3 separate regions of the Homo sapiens genome follow, and all the other regions are linked to region 2. The links are contacts of gene promoters, found by promoter capture Hi-C in human tissues and cell types (Jung and others, 2019). All regions are on one chromosome and are shown on one strand. The core of a region is centred on a gene start or on the middle of the fragment in contact, and the rest is flanking DNA. Distances in the headings are between cores, read along the strand shown. Region 1 has its middle 10 kb from the start of LINC02352. Region 2 holds the start of OTUD7A (OTU deubiquitinase 7A). Region 3 holds the start of KLF13 (KLF transcription factor 13).

What was found. Contacts are between HindIII fragments. The study calls those that stand out against the background at their distance.
Region 1: a contact is called between a fragment that was not itself captured here and the fragment with the promoter of OTUD7A in region 2, in 1 of the 25 tissues and cell types used here (dorsolateral prefrontal cortex).
Region 3: the fragment with the promoter of KLF13 here is called in contact with the fragment with the promoter of OTUD7A in region 2 in 1 of the 25 tissues and cell types used here (dorsolateral prefrontal cortex).

The regions. Positions count from the first base shown.
Region 1 is chr15:31,204,348-31,207,789 of GRCh38, reverse strand. No RefSeq gene overlaps it. Among named protein-coding and RNA genes, the nearest start is that of LINC02352, 10 kb to the left of the region's middle. The HindIII fragment of the contact is 4,398 bases long and covers 1-3,442 here.
Region 2 is chr15:31,868,920-31,872,121 of GRCh38, reverse strand. It overlaps OTUD7A (OTU deubiquitinase 7A), which reads left to right and starts at 1,449. Exons shown (of 13, transcript NM_001382637.1): 1 at 1,449-1,615. RefSeq lists a silencer at 1,417-1,486. The HindIII fragment of the contact is 13,679 bases long and covers 1-3,202 here.
Region 3 is chr15:31,324,929-31,328,345 of GRCh38, reverse strand. It overlaps KLF13 (KLF transcription factor 13), which reads right to left and starts at 1,511. Exons shown (of 2, transcript NM_015995.4): 1 at 557-1,511. The coding sequence starts at 1,133. RefSeq lists an enhancer at 1,789-2,302 and a promoter at 1,330-2,386. The HindIII fragment of the contact is 14,180 bases long and covers 1-3,417 here.

The DNA.
Region 1 (3,442 bases), core at 107-2,606, 660 kb after region 2:
CCACTTCTTAATACTGTTACAATGGCAATGAAATTTCAACATGAGTTTTGGAGGAGACATTCGAACCATAGCATAGTGCAATCTATTTGTTCGTCATCAAAAAAACTTGACAAACCCTGGATTAGTTAATTCTGAAGGTTCCTTTGGCACCAAGATTCTGTAATTCTGCCTGCTGTTTAGAGAATCATGCCCTAGGCTTCCTGGGACAAGCCCACCTTTTCCTTTGATAGATTTCTCAGGCATCAGCAGCTAACCTCTCCTGGCATTCACCTGTCTCTAAGGCAGGTGACAGTGGAAGTCAGAAGATCTAAACAGTGCCACTCTCTGCTGTGGTAGGTTCTCTGTGGTCTGGGGTTTGATCTTAGCATCTAGGTCTATATGCTTCCGGAAGCTCCCTCATCTTCTGCTGACTTGCAGGTGCTGCTGGAGATACTATCTGAGCATCCCCAAAGAGCCTTGGGAGCCATCCAGGTCCACACTCAGAAACCCACCCAGAGCTGGGGCAGTGACCTCCGTGTCCTATGGACCAGCTTGAGATATTTTCAAGATTCCCCAGGGTTACGCTGACTGGGCCAAATCCTTTGTAGAGGCTTAGTCTTTCCATGGGAATGGTTTGTACCTGGAGCCTACGAAACATGACACTGAGGGTTACCTGTTTCCACACCATTGCCTTTTTCTTTAATGATGTGTGCCCAGGACGCCCGGGGAATCGGGATTGGCTTGGTGTTGGGCTTTCCTGTGACTGGCTCAGGGTGGGCATGTGATGCAGTGAGCAGGAAGGGGAGTGTTACAGTGAGAGCTTTTCCAGGTGGTGAGGAAAAAGCACACTTTCCCTCCTGCTGGGGCCCTGTGCGGTGTGAAGTGCTGGGGGTGGGAGCAGCCCTCCGTGATTTATGAGGGAGAAACCCCAAACCCCAGACATGCTGAATAGGCCCGGCAGCCCGTGGGAGCATTCCTGAGCCTTGGCAAAGGGGCGTCCCTCAGAGTCATTATCACAGATACCACTGATGACCAGACATTCTGTGGCTTGCAGTCAGTGGCATCCTGTCAGAGAGGATCACGCTCTTCCTTTGAGGTCCACGGGAAGGGACCATGCTGGGGGTACCTTATAGGCCCCTCACTGTTTGGAGTTCTGGAGCTCCAAGAATCAAGGAATTTGGTTCTTGCCCTGCACAAATGTGAAGCGAGGATGCCCCCTTGGCATTGCCATGCCCATTGCAACGGGAATGAGAGAGGGCAGGGCAGGCTGCTCATTTTGTAATTGGCAAAGGGAGGGGGCTTTTTATAATAGAAACTAGGGCAGTTTTGACAGTCCCACGGACCCCCTTGCTTTGGTGTGAGCAGCCACACCCTGTTGTGATTTTATTGTCATCATACTGTCACTTGATCAGCTCCTTTAAGGCTTCGCTGACTTTTATTCTCTTAGATACTGTTGTTTGTGCAATAAGACTCTGAAGTCTTTGCAAGCAAGTTAAATTGAGATACACCAATTTCTTGCATGCAGTATAGGAATTATTCTCTAAAATGCAAATGTAGTATATTAGTTCTTAATGGCTAGGTGTGGATCCAAGTTTTGTGAGGTCTGGAGATTATACAGTCATAAGACTCCTTTAAGAATTAAAAATTTGGAAAATAAAAAATTAGGTATAAAAGCAAATATTTAGAATGAGAAAATAATAAACCTTACAAATTTTAAAGAGCTGAAAACCATCACAAACATCATAAAGTACAGAAATATAACATAACATCTTTTTATAGCTAACTGCCTGACATAATTATATAATACGTGTTTTCCTACATTTTTGGCTACAAATTCTTTAGTCATCCTTTATATGGCAGGTTTTTTTGGTCATATTTCCTATACAACACATAAAAGGGTAATTTAATCTTTTATCTGGCACAGGGGGCCAGAAGCTTCTTCTGTAAAGGACCAAAGCAAATATTTCAGGCTTTGGGGACCAAGCCTATGTATTAAGTACCCATATCCGCCATTGTAGCAGGAAAGTGGCCATAGACAATTTGTAAATGAATGAGCATGGCTGTGTTCCAACAAAACTGTATTTACAAAAACAAGTGACAGCCTCCAGGACGTAGTTCAATTGATAGTCTAGCATCAAAATAATAAATTTAATTAAAAGTTTAGAAAACTTTCAGCTTCACAATCCATTATTAGTAATATCATGTACATTTTTAAGACTCAAATTTGGGACCTTTTCTTTTCTTTTTTGAGACAGAGTCTCACTCTGTCACCCAGGCTGGAGTGCAGTGGCACTATCTCAGCTCACTGCAAGCTCCACCTTCTGGGTTTACGCCATTCTCCTGCCTCAGCCTCCCAAGTAGCTGGGACTACAGGTGCCTGCCACCACGCCCAGCTAATTTTTTGTATTTTTAGTAGAGACGGGGTTTCACCGTGTTAGCCCGGATGGTCTCAATCTCCTGACCTTGTGATCCGCCCTCCTCGGCCTCCCTAAGTGCTGGGATTACAGGTGTGAGCCACTGCACCTGGCTGGGACCTTTTCTAATATGTTTTTTTCTCTATATGAGCTGTAAGGTTTCCAGGCATTTTCAGGTTTTCTTGTACAGAGATTCATCTTAATTAAACACACTTTGAAGTGATAATGCCTCTTAATCCGTTTGTCACTGTTATCTGCATTTCACTGCTTTGGTGGCAGTTTTGCATGCTTTTAACTGGAGCCATCAGACATCAGGACCAGATGTATCTGAGACACTAAAACATAATGTGATAAGATGAAATGTATGAAGAACACAACTGCACACACAAATGCTTTTGCTGTGGTAGTGCTACAAGTTTATGCCCCACAAACAGAAATTCTGACAAACCCTACTTCTTTTGATTACCAGCAGCAGACCTGGCTTGGAGGGAGGGTGGCTGACAGGAGGCAGAAGTCATGGTGGACACTACCTTGTGTGACTGAGATCCTTGCTTACCTACTCCATCTGGCCCAAGGGCTCATGCAGGAAGGCTCAAGGCATCTGCTCTGAGCCTCACAGCCTTGGCCATCAACCCAGCCCTGAGCTCCCACTTGCCCTGACTGGCTGGGCAGCCCTTCCCCGCTGCCCACCTGGAAGGAGCCACCAGGGACACAATGCCAGCTCCCTGTCCTGCTCCTTCTCGTCCACTCAGAGGGGTGGAAAGAGGATCCTACAGCGGCAAGCCCCCCACAAATCACCAGTCAGGGGTTCAAGTCCCCACTTGTGAATATCACAGGGAGAGTGGCCCAGCAGACCCCTGAGTGGCATCGTCATCAAGGGTTGGAGGATCCCAGGTTAGCAGCAGTGGGAGGGAGACCAGCGAGTGCCAACAACCCAGCGTGAAGAGCACAACTCACTTGCTACACTGGCAAACCCTTGGATGAGCCCACAGTTCCTTCCAACAAGTCCGGTTTTCCCCAAACACCTTTCTGATGCATACTGTAGGATG
Region 2 (3,202 bases), core at 200-2,699:
TGCTGGTGAGGATGAAGGAAAGGGATTCATATTTGCTGACAGTTATAAAAATGCTATAGCCACTCTAGAAAACTGTTTGGTTCTTATAAAGTTAAACAAATTTACCATAAGATCTAGCAATTGCACTCCTAGATATTTAGTCAACTAATTTAAAAAATTTGTCCGTACAAAACGCTGCATGCAAATGTTTATAGAATGTTTATTCACAGTCGCCAAAAACTGGAAACCACGCAAATATTCTCCAGTGGGTGACTAAACAAAATGTGGTACAAATAATGAGACTCCCCTCAACAATAAAAAGGACTATTACTATACACAATAACATGGATGAATCTCCAAGGTATAATGATGAGGGAATAAAGTCAGTTTCAAAATGTTACATATTGCGTAATTCCATGTATACGACACACTCACAAAGACAAAACCGTAGCAATGGAGAACCTATCAGTGGTTACCAAAAGTTAGGGTTGGCGGGGGCGCTGTTATAAAAGGGCAGAACTAGGGAGCTCTTTATTGCGCTAGTGGTTACATGAATCCAAACAAGGGTTCAAGATCACAGGATTATATATCAAATAACCAATTTTACTGAATATCAATTTTAAAAGTCAAATAAATTATTAAACACTATTAAACATATACAATGTTTAAAGTCAAGCAAAAAGTCCTAAACTAAAAGTAAAATAATGATTGTTTAGAAGTACACCAGGATGGTATGGGTCATCTGCAATATAACGTCCTGTTTGGGATAAGGAAGCGTGACTACATCTACAGGGTGACGTGAGAAGGGCCCAGAGCAGCGAGCAGGTCTTGCCATCAGGGAGGGGAACCATCTGAAGGGGTGGCGTGAAAAAGTCTTTAGAGGAAGGCAAAAAATGGGAAAAGGTCAGAGAACCTTTTTGGGAGGTAAAAGGACCAGCTTTGGATTAGGCGTGATGCACAGGCCCCAGCGCAGGGCGTAGAAACTGCAGCCTGGACAGCCTGGGTGGGAGAAAGTTTGGGATGTTTAGGAAGGAAGGGTGCGCCAGCCAGGGGGAAGAAACGAGACAGGTGGCCGCAGATGGCGCGAGTCAGGCAGCAGGAAAAGGCAGGCTGTTTAAGCAGCCTTTTCCTGCAGTCCAGGCGGAGAGCGCAGAAGGAGCACCCCGAGGGGCAAGCATGGGAGAGCCGGAGCGGGCTCGCGGGCGCGCGGGCGCTGTACGTCCCCTCCTCGGCTCGCGGCCGCGAGCACGCGCTCTCCGTGCCCGGCCCCGGAGGGGCGGGGGCGGGGCACAGGCGCGGCGCGCGCACGTCCGCGCGGGGCGGGGGCGGGGCGCGAACGCGACCGGTGACGTCAGAGGAGGGCGCGCGCCCGGAGGCAGCAGGCGGAGCCGGGAGGCGGGCGTTGTGCGCGGCCGCGGGCGGAGCGGAGGGGCGCGAGGGGCGGAGCGGAGCGCGGGAGGAGGCGGGGGAGGAGAGGCCACCGGGACCGCGAGCGGCAGCTGGGGAGGGGGCCGCGGAGCCCGAGCGGGAGCAAAACAGCTGATCTGGTTTTCCTTTAAAGCGAGAGAAAATGGAAGTCGGGTAGCGGCGACTGCGGCGCTGCGGGCTGGCGGAGCGGAGCGGCGCGGCGCGGCAGGTAAGACGGCGCTGGCCGCGGTGCTGCCGGCGGGCGGCGGGGCCGGGCCCGCGGACCAGGCAGGTGCGCTCTCCGGGCGCGGGGCCGGCGCCGTCTCCTTCCCGAGCTCCGTGGCGAGGCAGGTGGGCGTTGAGGCCGGGCGACCGCGGGGCCGGGGCGCGGGGACGCGGGGGGCGCGGGCCCCGGCTGGGCTCGCCGGCGCGTCTGCATTGCGGGCTCCGCTCCGGACCCCGCGGGCTCCCGGGCCACCGGCTCCGGCCCGGCGTGGCGCGCCTCTCTCGGGCAGGGCGCGGCGCTACCGCTGGGTCGGGGCTGCTGCCTCCGCTCAGCCCTTTGGCTGTCCGCACTGGAACGTGATGCCAGGCGTGGGGCGACCGACCCCTCGGTCCGTGCGCGCGCGTCGGGGGTCCCGCGGCTCTTGCAGACGGCCGGGCAGGGCCCGGCCCCGAGCCGCGCGCGAGGCCGCTCGCCGGGCACCGGAGCTGTGACTGCGTGGGTCCCCGCGGCCCGGCGCACCGCCGTCCCGCTCGCTCTGCTGGGTCTCGCTGGACAGCAGGCAAACCATTAAGGCAATTTGGCTGTGAACCCAGAGGCCTTCCCTAGTATCTCCTCACTGGAGGGGAAAAAATTGCATCTGCGGTGCTTTAAGTGCTCCTTTAAATTTGGGAGATGTCAGTGATGTCATCATTAACTAAAACTTTCCTTCATTGGACACAACCGCTCAAGTGTACCCTCCTCCCTCCCGGTGAAGCTATTGCAGCCCTTTGAGAATCTCTGTAATAAAATGGATTTGCCTCTGCTCTGTAAACTCAGCTACCTCACACAAGTGCAAATGACTTTTATTTCTGTCTATTGGCTTGAGAATGTATAGATTTAAGAGTAGCTGAAGGGAAACTTGTGAGACCCCGATCAGGGAAACGCTTCATCCACAGCACAAGGATCCAGGGGAAAGTCATGTATGACATGCACATGGTTACCGCCAGGTGATACCTTTGTAAATGGAAGTGGGCTGTAAGAGGAACAATTTTTAAAAATATGATGAGGCAGATAATGTGTCCAGGAAAAGGTTGACAGCGGGGCCTAAATCTTTACAGGTCTTAATTGCTTCAGGAAAATCTGCAGGTGTCCTTCACCATCCTCCTCCTCCTCCTCCAGGGTGTGCCCGGAGAAGCCTGCCCTGGGCGAAGGCGGGGAGGCAGGTTCACTAGGGTCCTCCCAGCAGCCGTGTGTCCCACCAGCTTCAAAGGCCTCTTCAAGACCCAAAGAGGGTTCACGAGAACAGAGGTAGATCTGCACGGCACACTCAGTTCTGGATAAACATTCCCCACTAAATGGGATCAACACTCCATTATTTTATTGTGAGTGTGCCATTAGTACCAATTCTTATGGGAACAAAACTAAGCAAGTTCCCAAGGCAATCTGAGTATCTACTCAAGCCTATCATATCGAAAGGATATCCAATAAGGGACAAAAGTATTGACATTTTTGTATTTAATAATTAATGACACCTCCTAATTGGTTAAAATAAGCATGCCTTAAATTGTTAGTGTGATTTTATTGGATCTGTAAGGAATTTAATACCATATG
Region 3 (3,417 bases), core at 262-2,761, 540 kb after region 2:
TACAGGAAGAAGAGAGCGAAGAATGTGCCGAGTGGCGAAGGAAACCTTGTCCCTGCGTGAACTTCGCCCGCCGCGCGCCGGGGCCGGCCCCTCCCCTCCTGAGCGCGCGCCCGGGCAGCGGGGGAGGAAACGAGGAGGGACCCCGGAGAGCGTCCCCTGCCCCCGCTCCGGGCGCCCCACCGTCACGAGTGCCGCCTGCGGTCCACACCCAGGCCGCCCGCACCTGCCCGCGCCGCCTCCCGGCCGGGAGGGGTCCCCGCCCCCAGCCCAGATGACTATATCCGCCCCCGCGGCCCCACCCGAGCGCGCCCGGGGAGGGGGCGTGCCCGGCGGGGGCGCGGTCGCCTGGCGGGCGCCGGCTCCGAGAGCCAAGACCCGCCTCGCGCGACGCGCGGGGCCAGCCGCGGGTCGGAGCGGCAGGGGAAGGGGCGAGGCCCCGGGCGTTCCGGCCCGCCCGGCCCCCACCTCGCGCCCCATCGGGGACTCCGGGGGCGTGGTCGGGCAGCTCGCGCCGACCCCGTCCGCGCGATCCGGGCGCCCGCGCCGCCCCACTGACCTGTGTGAGTTCTCAGGTGCGCCTTGAGGTGCGAAGATTTCCCGTAAACTTTCTCGCAGCCCGCGTAGTGGCACTTGTGCTTCCTCTGCGGGGACTCGAGGTCGGCGCGACTTCGGCCCCGCCGGACCCTTTGTCTGAGGCCGGGCTCGCCGCTCCCCGCGGGCCCCGGCTCCCGCTCGGGCTCCAGCCCCGCCTCGGGCTCCGGCTCGCTCCACGCCGGGCTGGGGGGCGCGGCCGCCGCGCCTTCGGCGCCGGGGGAGGTGGGCTCGGGGGCGGGCGGCGGCAGGCGGCAGGGGGTCCTCGCCTTCCGGGCCGCGGCGCCCTCCCTGCGCTCCGCCGGGGCGGGCGCCGGCGCTTGCTGGTTGAGGTCCGCTAGGATCCGCGCCACCACGAAGAGCGAGGCGCTGTCCTTACCGTCGCGGCGCTCCTCGACGCGGGGCAGCGTGGGGGTGGCGGCCACGGCCGCGCCCTCGGGCCGGGACTCCGGCCCCTCCCGCGGCCCGTGCACGACCGCGCGGCTCGACATGGACACGAGGCACTCGGCGGCGAAGTGGTCCACATAGGCGGCGGCTGCCATGCTGCGGGCTGGGGCCGGCGGCGGTGCTCTTGCTGCGAGTCGTCAGCCGCGCATCCGCACCCACGGCCTCGGGAGAGCGGGCGGGGGGCGGGGGCGCGGCGCGCCCTCTCCTCGGGCTGGGCTGGGCTGGGCTGGGCGCGCAGCCGCCTGTGCCGTCACCCGCGCGGCTCCGCGTCTGCGAGGCGCCGGCCCGGCCGGGCACCGAAGAGTGAGCGCATGGGGCGCGCGGGCGACTGGGGTCCCCGCGCGGCGTCAGGGGCGGCCGGTTCTAAGGATGCCGAGCGGCAACGTTAGGGACCACCTCGCCAAGTCGCGGCCGCAGCTTCGCCGCGCATTGTGGCAGGCGGGACAGCTGCCGTGCGCGCCGCGGCTCCGTGTGGGCGGCCCGGCCCCGGGGGTGGGCGGGGCCGGGGCCACATCTGGACCCGACGTCAGCCCCCAGCCACATCCTGGCGGCGCAGGTTACAGGCGGCGGCGGCTGCGGGGAGCTGCGCGCGCGGAGGGGGCGGGGACCCCAGAGCGCGCACCGGCGGAACGGAGCGGTCGCGTGCCCGCGCCTGGGCAAGGGGGCGTGACCGAGGGCCGGGACAGACGCCATTGGTCCGTGAGTGCACGGCCAGGCCAATCCGAGCCGTTAGAGGGGCGTGCCCGGTCCCGGGCCCTGCGCGCGCCAGTGGGCGTGTCCCCTGGGCCGGTGGGAGGAGGGGCGGAAACTGGAGCGGGGCGCGCTGACGCATGACGTCCGGGGGCGGCGGGCCGGGTAGTCGCGGCGCGGAGCGGCTGCTTGTACCCCCCGCGGCGGGGACACAGCGAGCACTTCTCTGCCGGAGCTTTTATGTGGTGACAGCCTTGGCCCCCGGCATGGAGGGGAGCGGTTTCTGGAGGGCGCCATTTGTTCCTCCCGCGATGGGCGCCGGCGGGGAGGCGTGTCTGCCCGGCCGGGCGCGGGGCTGCCTAGGGGCGGAACGCACTCGCGCCGCGCCCTCCGCCGCCGGCTTGCCGGGTGGCCGCGCCTAGAGCCTCAGGCCGCTCGCCCTCCCCACGCCCCTGCCTTGCAGAGCTCCGGGAGTCCGGGCGGGGCAGCTCCCGCGGGAGGGACAGACTCGGGCTCGTTCCTGGGGTCCGGGGTGCGGCCGCGCTGCCCTTCAGCTCGGGTCAGCCCGAGCAGGACTGGCCTCGGCTGGCGGTGAGCCTGGCAGCCCGGGTGGCGCGCCCACCGCGGCCTGTGCCTCCAGAAGCGAACTACGTGCCAGGGCGGCCGGCGCCGCTGCTGAGGGAACGCGGGGCCCCTTCCTCCCCATCCCGCCGCAGGCCCGCTGCCAACTCTTCTAGGCTGCCCCTCTCCCACCGCGGTCGGGGGGGCTTCAAACGCCACCAGCTGCGAGGACCCCGCCCACCGCGCCCCACCCGCCCGCTGTCTGGGCCTCCCGGAGGAAATGCTCGGCTGCGCCCAGCCCGCGCCTCCCAGCCCGGGCTGGGCCACCTTGCCCTTGACTCTCACGGTAACCCCTACCCCAGCCCGCGGCCCCAGCCATTCTCCAGGCCTGGGCCGTCCTCGGAGACGCCGGTGAATAACTTCCCACCGCCGCGGAACCGGGCTCAGCAAACCCCCTACTGCCTCGCCCCGTTGCATTGTGCTTAATGGACGTTCGAAGGAGTCAGCCACCCTTGCTGTGTTCTGAGAGGAGCCTGGAGAATGAAGGAGCCCGGGCACTCACCCTCAGTGGACCCTCGCAGTGGGAGGGGGGTGTCATTCTTCTCTCAGAATTAAGGTTAATAGCCGAGTTCGAGTTCTCACCAAATTAATTTGGGGTTGGAGCTCAGTAAGACTGGTTTTCAGGTAACCGACGAGGGACCGAAACGGCCATTCTGGGTTGCGTGTTACGGTGAACAGCAAACTGCATGGATGTTTGAGCACCCTCAGTATCTGTAACTAAAACCCTGAAATGCGGTCTCGCTGATTGAGTTGCTACCCTCTGGGGAGACTAAAGGTGCTGGACTGGGTCTGGTCCCTTTAGGAGGGTCTGTGCTTGGTAGAAAGTAATCGTGTTTCTTCCAGGCAGATTGTGTTGATGACATTTAATAAGAGACGTGTGTCCTGACCAAGTAATGATTCGGAATGTTCCTCTATTCCCACCACATGTCACAATTAGTCACTTCTTAAGGAAGGAGTGGTCCTACACCAGCTTATCAGCCACCCATACCCTCCTGGCCCCTTTCCAGCCAGCAGAATTCTCCCCAATCTTCAAGGTGCCACGTCTCCCCACTGGGTCACCCCAGCCGG